Linked DNA regions of Homo sapiens: region 2 is linked to region 1. Evidence: promoter capture Hi-C in 16 types of primary human blood cells and fetal thymus (Javierre and others, 2016). All regions are on one chromosome and are shown on one strand. Each heading gives the region's core, a stretch centred on a gene start or on the middle of the fragment in contact. The rest is flanking DNA. Distances are from core to core; before and after follow the strand shown.

The links. The method cuts DNA at HindIII sites, captures the fragments that hold promoters and counts their contacts. A CHiCAGO score of 5 or more calls a contact.
Region 2: a fragment that was not itself captured here is called in contact with the fragment with the promoter of TMC1 in region 1 in 1 of 17 cell types (endothelial precursors); the score reaches 8.6 in endothelial precursors.

Annotation. Positions count from the first base shown.
Region 1 is chr9:72,518,349-72,523,644 of GRCh38, reverse strand. TMC1 (transmembrane channel like 1) reads right to left here and starts at 2,037. Exons shown (of 24, transcript NM_138691.3): 1 at 1,732-2,037. LOC101927234 (a long non-coding RNA gene) reads left to right here. Exons shown (of 3, transcript XR_001746721.3): 3 at 1-227. The HindIII fragment of the contact is 6,235 bases long and covers 1-3,388 here.
Region 2 is chr9:72,572,965-72,578,268 of GRCh38, reverse strand. TMC1 (transmembrane channel like 1) reads right to left here. Exons shown (of 24, transcript NM_138691.3): 2 at 246-367. It overlaps LOC101927191 (a long non-coding RNA gene), which reads left to right and starts at 740. Exons shown (of 5, transcript XR_242619.5): 1 at 740-851; 2 at 1,028-1,163. The HindIII fragment of the contact is 2,698 bases long and covers 672-3,369 here.

The DNA.
Region 1 (5,296 bases), core at 788-3,287:
CTTCTCTCTCCCCCTCCTCCTTCAGCCTATTCAACTTGAAGATGACAAGGATGAAGAGCTTTATGATGATCTACTTCCCCTTAATGAACAGTAAATATATTTTTTCTTCCTTACAATTTTCTTAATAGCATTTTCTTTTCTCTAGCTTACCTTATTGTAAGAATACAGTGTATAATACATAAAACATACAAAATATGTGTTAATAAACTGTTTATGTTATTGGTAAAGCATCTGGTCAACAGTAGGCTGTTAGGAAAGTGTGAGGGTAGTCAAAAGTTAAGCTCAGATTTTTGACTACGCAAGGGTCGGCATCCCTAAACCCCAAGTTGTTCAAGGTCAACTATAATTCCCTATTACTCCTCACTCTTCCTCCCTCCTTCCTCCTCTTCTTCCTTATCCCTTCTCCTTCATTTTCCCCACAGGCTAACTGCAACTCAGCCCACTTCATTTCCTAATTTTTCCTCCTCCCTGCATCCCCCCGAGTCTTTGTGAGATGCTCTTCCCTTCACTCCTGCCAGCCCTATGGCATCATGGCATTATCATGGTGTATGGAGAACTTCTGTCTTATCTGTTTCTCCCACTAACCCAGTGGTTTTCAACTGGAGACAATTTTGCTCCTCAGGGGACATTTGGAAAAGTCTGGAGACATTTTTAATTGTCACTTCTGGGGAAGGGGGTTGATACTGTCATCTACTGAGTAGAAGCCAAGGATGCTGCTAAACATCCTACAGTGCACAGGACAGCCCCTCACAAAAAAGGATTATCAGGCCCCAAAGGCCAATAGTGCTAAGGTTGAGAAACTGCACTAGGCTGAGTTCCTTTAAAATATGACCCTATTCAGCGCTGTTCCAGCAGCTCCACAGACAGTGTCCAGTGCCCAGTAGGAAGGAATCCAAACAGTTTTAATATTACATTTGAAATTTTAATTGAAAAACTCTTCTGACAGCTGTATGTTATAACTAATAAGCAATATGACCACATACCACAATTCAAAGGAAAACCAATATCCAGAGGTAAAGGTGGCTTACACCCATCAGTCTTTGACACTTCCTCCTATCTAGTTCTCTGTATTTCTTCCCTTTCTCCTTTTCTCTTGTCCCTGTGCTCACTGTCCCCCTTTACTGTCATGTTTGTTTGAATTCCACTTCAAAATGGGAATTTGAACAGAGTGCAATAAATTGTCCCACATTTGTTTATTTTAGGAAATCATTGCATTTAATTTTAACATTTAAACATATCAATTAGGCCAGGTGCGGTGGCTCACGCCTGTAATCCCAGCACTTTGGGAGGCTGAGGCGGGCGGATCACGAGGTCAGGAAATCGAGACCATCCTGGCTAACACGGCGAAACCCCGTCTCTACTAAAAATACAAAAAATTAGCCGGGCGTGATGGCGGGCGCCTGTAGTCCCAGCTACTTGGGGAGCCGAGATCGCGCCACTGCACTCCAGCCTGGGAGACAGAGCAAGACTCCGTCTCAAAAAAAAAAAAACTTATCAATTACTGGGTGACATGCTGTGCACTGCAAGAAAAACAAAGATAAATAGGAAACTGGGACTATCCTAACTGGGGGAGATTTCTGTAGCAGTAGAAAAGTAGAGGAAATATAGTTTTATTTCACTAATGTGATTAGGGAATATCTCATGGAGAAAGTCTTCGATTTAGGTCTTCACACATGTTTCATAAAGAATGTTAACACACCACACATAGGTAATAATGTTGTCTTTCCTTACCTGGCATCATTATGAGGGCCACTTTTTGGGGCAATGATTCCTAAATTTCAGCAACTCCTGGAGGGCTTGTGAAAGAAAGCACAGATTGCTGGGTTCTGCCCTCATAGTTTCTGAGGCAGTAGGTCTTCGGTGAAATCAGAAAACTGGTGTTTCTTTTTTCTTTTTTTTTTTGTGACGGAGTCTTGCTCTGTCACCCAGGCTGGAGCGCAATGGCGTGATTTCAGCTCACTGCAACCTCCGCCTTCCGGGTTCAAGCGATTCTCCCGCCTCAGCCTCTGAGTAGATGGGAAACAGTCGCGCGCCATCATGTTTTTGTAGAGGCGGGGTTTCACTCTATTGGCCAGGCTGATCTTGAACTCCTGACCTCAGGTGATCCGCCCACCTCAACCTCCTGAAGTGCTGGGGTTATAGGCGTGAGCCACGGCGCCTGTTTGTTTTTTTTTTTCTAATCAGAGGTTTTGCTCTTGTCGCCCAGGCTGGAGTGCAATGGTGTGATCTTGTCTCACTGCAACTTCTGCCTCCCAGGTTCAAGTGATTCTCCTGCCTCAGCCTCCCAAGTAACTGTGATTTCAGGTGCCCGCCACTACACCCGGCTAATTTTTGTATTTTTAGTAGAGGCGGGGTTTTGCCATGTTGGCCAGGCTGGTCTCAAAACTCCTGACCTCAGGAGTTCGGCCTCCGAAAGTGCTGGGATTACAGGCATGAGCCACTGTGCCCGGCCTAGAAAACTGGTGTTTCCAACAAGTCCTTTGGTGCTGCTGGTGCTACTGCGGGCCTTCTGAGGAGACTTTGAGAACCGCTGCATCAGGATTATCAGCCTGGTAACTCCTGGCCGAAGAAATGCACACCCTTCATTTGGCTAAAAGAAAGAATTTCCAATATTCATAAAGAAAACACAACTTGTGGGTTCTCCAAGCAGGAGAGGAAAAATCATGTTCCAGTCTATTCCTGTAACTAATGAAGGGCTCAGGTTTCAAAGGTAAGTTAATTGTCAGACCCACTTTATTGTACCCAGTGTCCTTGGGAAACATAATTATTTATTGGAAATATGTCACAACTAACATAAGTCTTAAAAATTTGTTAAATTAGAAACAAAATATTGTATTTGCTGATATGTTAAAACATAAGGGCCTAACATTTAGAATTGCACTTCTCATACTCACAACATGTACTCAAAATGCTGTTAACATCTACTTTGATGATTGTTTTGGGTTTACTTGAATCTAATGTTTCCATTTAATAATTCCTTTTTTTTCCCCTTTCCTTTTTTCAATCAATCCTTTCTCTTTTCTATGTTCTATATTCATGTTATCTTAGAATTCCATTTTGGCCTTCTAGGTTCTTTACTTCTTCCTCCAGCCTGTCATTTTCATGTCTTCAGTGATTTCTCAGACTTCTCACAGAAAGTTAACCATTTTTGTGCATCTTGAAACTTTTAACCTTTGATTTGAAGATAAATGCTAATAAATAAATATAATTCTTATGAATACATTATGCACAATGTTAAATTCAAAATGACTGACATGTTTCATGCTGTGTGCTATAGATATGCTAAACTTCATTTCAAACAGACTAAATAAAACACATGGAACTACATGCACTTTTTGTGAACAGCATCTTCATACCTGTTGTTTGTTAATGTCAGCAATTATAAGCTTATAGGTGTGTTTTTCAAGTGATCACTGAAAATAAATGTAGTATGTCTATTGGCAGAACCACTCACACCTACTAATTATTTGAAAAACATGCTCAAACACACAGTAGTGCCTTCTAGAGAAAGCATAGTATAGTCCTCCCTCATTTCCAAGGACAAGAATTCATTTCTTTAAGCTTTCTTCACGAAAGAATGCAATAAAAGAGGAGGAAACTGGGACTTGATTGAAGAAATATCTCTACTGGGAGCATGAACTAATAATGAGTGACTCTAAGAAATCTCTCACAGGCATTTTTATTTTTGGCTTTTGTTGTTGTTGTTTGGTTGGTTTTCATTTGTTTTTTATTTTTATTTTTTATTTTATTTTTATTTTTTGAGGCAGAGTCTCGCTCTGTCACCCAGGCCAGAATGCAGTAGCACTGTCGTGGGTCACTGCAGTCTTTGCCTCCCAGGTTCAAGTGATTCTCCTGCCCCAGCCTCCTGAGTAGCTGGGATTACAGGCACCTGCCATCATGCCCAGCTAATTTTTGTATTTTTGTAGAGACGGGGTTTCACCATGTTGACCAGGCTGGTCTTCAACTCCTGACCTCACGTGATCTGCCTGCCTCAGACTCCCAGCTGTTTTTTTATTTTTTAATTTTAATTTCATTTTTTATTTTTTGGGGGACAGGGTCTCACTCTGTCACTCAGATTGGAGTGCAGTGGTGTGATCTCAGCTCACCGCAACCTCCGCCTCCTGGGTTCAAGCGATTCTCCTGCCTCAGTCTCACGAGTAGCTGGGATTACAAGTACACACCACTACCGCCCAGCTAATTTTTGTATTTTTATTAGAGATGGGGTTTCACCATGTTAGCCAGACTGGTCTTGAACTCCTGACCTCAAGTGAGCCACCCACCTCAGCCTCCCAAAGTGCTGGGATTACAGGCGTGAGCCACCGCGCCCAACCTGTTTTTTCTTTTTACCGTCACTAAAACAAAGGCAGCACATGCAATTGTCAGTGCCATTTGGCATCTTAAATTAAGACTGAAGACTGCAAAATCCATTTCCTGTTTTCATCCCCTGCTTAATATGAATTTTTCAAAAGACCACTTCCCCTAAGTTACAATAAGAAAATTAGAAATTAATTTGCTTTATCACAAATGGCTTGCATGCTGAGGCATTGTTTAAATGTGTCTGGTCCTTTCTGATTTTTATAACTTAGAGCTGTAAGTCCTGTCATTTCAGTTTACACCATAGTTTTAGGGACACAGAAATTTAAAAGCGAATGTCCGGAAGGCTCTCTGGAATGCTGGCCTACTTTGCACAACTGAGGGGCTATTGTTCAAATCTTTTCTGTAGTATACATGTTAATATATCTTGGGCTCTTTCCAGAAGTTATTCTGGCTAAAGGACATCGGAAGCACATCTGAGTTCTCATTCTAATAAAGAAAAGAATGTAGTACCAAGGCAGTAGTTGCTTTCTCAGCTGTCTTTACCTCCTCCAATGTTTTACTGGAAAAACCTCCTCATTTATTTATATTTATATACCAATCATGACATCTATCTGGTGATAACCATGTGCTAGGTTTTGTAAGCATTATTCCATTTATTTATTTATTTATTTATTTATTTTGAGATGGAGTCTCGCTCTGCCACCTAGCTTGGAGTGCAGTGGCGTGATCTCAGCTCACTGCAACCTCCACCTCCAGGGTTCAAGCGATTCTCCTGCCTCTGCCTCCTGAGTAGCTGGGATTACAGGGGCACACCACCACACCTGGCTAATTTTTGTATTTTTTGTAGAGACGGGGTTTCACCATGTTGGTCAGGGTGGTCTCAAACACCTGACCTTGTGATCCGCGCGCCTCGGCCTCCCAAAATGCTGGGATTACAGGCGTGAGCCACTGCACCTGGCCTATGTTAAAACTACCTTAT
Region 2 (5,304 bases), core at 771-3,270, 55 kb before region 1:
CACGCGTGCGCGCGTGCACAAAGGAGGGTGGAAACAAGTTATTAAAGAGAAGATAATGTGCTCAAAGTCCTTGAGGAGGAAAATAAAATTACAACCAACAGGCCGGGTGCAGTGGTTCATGCCTGTAATCCCAGTACCCTTAGGTGGATCACTTGAGGTCAGGAGTTCAAGTCCAGCCTGACCAACATGGTGAAACCCTGCCTCTACTAAAAATACAAAAATCAGCCAGGCATGGTGAGGCATACCTGAAATCCCAGCTACTCAGGAGGCCGAGGCAGGAGAATCACTTGAACCTGGGAGGCGGAGGTTGCAGAGAGCCGAGATCGCACCACTGCACTCCAGCCTGGGCAACAGAGTAAGATCCCATCTGAAAATAAATAAATAAATAAATATAAATAAAGAATAAACTAATTAATTTCTAAAAATTACAAGAGGCAGAGCCCAAAACACAGCATGCTGGCTGCGTGAAGACCCATAACTCAGTTGGCATGTTTTTCAGCAAGCTATTACTCCCCTCCCTTGAAACTCCAGCTTGTAAATATATTTATAGCTGCTCCACACAATATGCCGGATACTAAAAAAAAAACACTGAGTCATTGTTCCTGGTGAACCAGTTTTGCAAGAGTTAATCTAATCCCTGGCATGAAGCTCAATATGCTTTGCCAAAAGCTTCAGCAAGGAAGAATCCCGCTTTTGGCCTAAAGGTTAGCTGATCTCAATCAGGCTGCTACAGAAACTCAGCATTTATTGACAGGGCACACTGTTTTTGATCTGTCTAGAAATGGAGGCATTATGAAGTGCACTTGCCAGTACCTGTGTTAATTGATGAGTCTCTCTTTTACACAATCATAGTAAGTGCCCTGAGAGTTTTTGGCTTCTTGTTCCTTTGCTCCACCCGTCCCTGTGTGCTGAGGCACAACAGTCCACTGGAGTGGGAGTTTCCAAATCAGATGTGTCAGCTTTTCCTAACAACTCGCAGAGTGATTAAAGAATTTTAAAGCAAGTAATTTCACTGTGACTCCCCTAGGTTATGAGCAGCCCAAGAGGAGGAACAATGGTAGCTCCAGAAGTTCTAACAGGAAGAGGAAAGGGTCAGAGATTTTATTAAGAAAAGAATTTTGGAGGAGTAATCAGCGGATTTGACTTGAAACAATAGCTGCAGAGTAAGTACATTATTTATCCTTAAATTGTATGCTGTAGCTTCATTAAAAAAAAATAGCAAACATTTCCGAGAATAATTTCTGTAAGATTGAAAAAAATCCCAGTTGGCCATATTGCAGAATAACACCAAGGCTGGTGAGTAAAGCACGTTCCAGGAGGTAGAAATTGGGAGTCCAGGGCACCGGGCGCGGTGGCTCATGACTGTATTCCCAGCACTTTGGGAAGCCAAGGCGGGTGGATCACGAGGTCAGGAGATCCAGACCACCCTGGCCAACATGGTGAAACCCTGTCTCTACTAAAAATACAAAAAAATTAGCTGGGTGTGGTGGCGCATGCCTGCAATCCCAGATACTCGAGAGGCTGAGCAGGAGAATCGCTTGAAGTTGGGAGGGAGACAGAGACTGCAGTGAGCCGAGATCGTGCCACTGCACTCCAGCCTGGCAACAGAGCAAGACTCCGTCTAAAAAAAAAAAAGAAAAAAAAAAAAAAGAAATTGGGAGTCCAGGGAGGGGCTGGTCAAAACCCATCAAGCCATCCCTTGGCATTGGGCAGGAAATGTAACTGATTCATCTTGACATCCCAGCTCTGTGTACAGTCGTTGGCACAAGAAGGAGCTCCGTAAATGTTTATTGAATCAAAGAGGTGCTGAGCACCTAAAGGAGAGGAGGAAGGGAAGGTTCGAGAAGATAGAGAAGAGAAAAGAGGGTCAGAAAGGAGAAAGGGGAGGGAAGAGAGAGGAGGAGAGAGACAAGAAGGAAGGGAGAAAGAGGAGGGGCTAGAAAAAAGACCATGACACAGTTGGCCCACAAGCTGAGAGTATTTATGGTGCTCTAAGAGGTCAAGTATATTTTTACCCTCTTGGCCAACTAATACAGTTGTTAAATGTCACCATGATCACAGCTCTTGCTCTATAAAACTGGATATATGTTTTCTCACATTAGAGCTGTTTTCTAGAGTTGATTTCCTACAGCTTAGTTTGACATCTTAATGAAGATTCCACCACGAGTATGCCATCTCCTCAAATGGTGCCATCTTTTCAGGCACAGAGGAAACCTGCCTTACTTCTGCAGACATTACCATCAAAAACATTGTCATTGTCCTGGGTCCCCTTCCCCAACGAGTTATTTCTGTACTTCTGAAAACTTGTTTAGCTGATGGGAAAACACATGTGAGCCTAGTTTGTGTGTGTGTGTGTGTGTGAGCCCAGTTTCAACTGGCCCTCTTTCCTGACTCATAGGAACCAATCAGAAACTTGTGTTCTGCAGCTCTGTCATTTCCACTCCAGAGAAGAAAAATGTCACAAGCCCTGGATTGTGAAGTAACAAAGTGAGCAATACAAAATGAGCCAGAGAAAGACCAGATCAAGGACCCAGGGCCACCCCAAAAGCTGCTGTGACCCCATGTCCTTCTCATATGAGGCTTCTTTGTTTCAGTTAGTGTCGCCTTCTGGGCAAGAATGGACCAATGAAAGGCAAACCATCTGTGTGTGTGCTTCTCTCAGATGCCCACAAAACTCCCCATAGTTGTTACCTTCTGGGAAGCTCCGAATGTTGTCATTGTTCCTGATTTTCCTATTCGAGAGATTTGCAAATTTAACGACATGGTATTTAATCTTTAAACCTTATCAGGCCAGGCACAGTGGCTCACACGTGTAATCCCAGCACTTTGGGAGGCCGAGGCGGGCAGATCACCTGAGGTCAGGAGTTCAAGACCAGCCTGGCCAATATGGTGAAACCCCGTCAGTACTAAAAATACAAAAATTAGCCGGGCTTGGTGGTGGGTGCCTGTAGTCCTAGCTACTCGGGAGGCTGAGGCAGGAGAATCACTTGAACCCGGGAGGCAGAGGTTGCAGTGAGCCGAGATCACGCATTGCACTCCAGCCTGGGCAACAGAGCAAGACTCCATCAAAAAACAAACAAACAAAAAAACCTAATTTGCTGTTGTGGAATATCAACACAAATGGGATAATACAAGTACACCCTTTGTACAAGCATCTTATTATTTGTCTCTATATAAGTAGAAAGATGGAGGTGAAAGAGTGGTCAAGGAGGGGCTGGGAGGGAAAGCATGACAAAAAGAAGGACTGGGGCCTCACGACAGTTGGCCACCAGCTCTGGTCACCACACCAAACTCAAGGCACTAAAATCATTCCATAAGAACATGGGGCACTGTACTAGCTCTGGTCCTGACTTTCTAGGAGCCTAAGCTTTATGGTGGAGACAGATGAGTGAACAGTTACAATGAGGGAGCAATTTCAACAATGGGGGTGAAGATGGGGAGATCAGCAGCGTATGTGGGGACTAGTAGGAATGTATGGTCAGAGAATACTTCTCAGAGAAGCTGACTTCTAGAAATTCACCTTGCATGCATCTTACTTCTTATGACCCCCACTGCAGAGCAAGGATGCATGTAAAAAGTGACAAGGAAGTAACCATTATCGACCTTAAGTTAACCTGGCATTCTGTATCAGCCCAGCTTCCTGTGGTTAGCAGGTGGCCTTTTACAATCGCCCTCTGACATTTTCCAGTTGATCCCAAAAGCTAATTCCATATTACCAGGGGAAAGAGTGATGTTAAATGCCTTTTATAAAAAAGGAAGCATTTATTGAAACTGAATCATCAACTTTAATCTGGGTTGCTTTCTGAAATGGGAGCAGTCTCTGCTGCAATATTCAGATATTGGCCTTGCTTTCCTGATAGCACCATATCTGTTTCTGAGCCAAGGGATCAGTCAGGATGGCAACCCATGCTGGAGCAGCCAAGAGCTTGGGCGCCCAATTAAATGGAGGTCACTCATCACACTTCCCTATTTGTGTTCTTTAACCATCTGTACTGGAGGAGACCCTGTTCACAATTCTTTCTGTTCTCTTTTACTAGCCCCAATCCTACCATTTCAAAAATGCTTTGTTTCCAAAGAATATCCATATGGAGCATGGAGCATGGCCACTCTCTAATCAGAATAGCAAAAAGTAAATTAAAAGGAACAAGATCATGGCTTTTGCAGGAACATGGATGGAGCTGGAGGCTATTATCATCAGCAAACTAACGCAGGAACAGAAAATCATATACTGCGTGTTCTCACATATAAGTGGGAGCTAAATTATGAGAACTTATGAACACAAAGAAGAAAACAACAGACTCTGGGGTCTACTTGAGGGTGGAAAGTAGGAGGAGGGAGAGGAGCAGAAAAGATAACTATTGAGTACTGAGCTTAATCCCTGGGTGATGAATCATCCGTACAACAAACCCTCTTGACATGAGTTTACCTATGTAACCAATTTTCACATGTACCCCCTAACCTAAAATAAAAGTTTAAAATAAAAGAAAAAAGACAGTAAAAGGGAGAAGTTCTCAAAAGAAAACATTTGACATAAATGCCACTAAAATATTGCAGTAACAGAAATCCTAATTAAAGGGAGATGAAATGAGTCTGTTTTTCTCCGAGAATGATTTAGAATCATTATAAACCATATAAATGAGAACAAGACCAGCCACTTTTGGCTAAGCCACCCTGTACAGGAATCTATTGCCTGCCCCCTTAATGGTTTAAAGCAAGGTATGTTCTCTTCCAAAGTTTACGCACAGGACTTAACAATTGCCCCTTTTGTCCTTCATTCCAGGTCATCGTGGTAGGTAGAAATGCTGGCACAGCATGCTAATGTCATCATGTACTGTGAGGTCTTTAGTGGGTGGTGGATTTTGAGGCTGTGCATTTATCCTACCGCCTCTTATCCTAGCACCCCTATTTAGAGGAGAACACACTGTCCATCTGCTTATATAGTTCTTTATTCTGAATTAGCCTTCATTTTCCTCAAATTTATGTTAGAACAGGTATGACACTCAAAATTCTGGGTTTGAGGGATAAACGTGAAAAAGATTTCCATAAAGTGAAGTATCTGAGAGAAAGAAGAGTTTGATGGGTTATGACCAGGCACATATCATGTGGTCAAAGTATATGAATAGAAAATGCATAACAGAAAAAAACCAATGGCTCATGCACATCTGGAAAACAAAATTCAACCTCACTAGTTATCAAGGGAAATGCCTCTTTAAACAATAATGAGATAGCATTTCATAACCAACAATATTGACAATTATTTTATTTTATTTTATTTTTGAGACAGAGTCTCACTCTGTCCCCTGT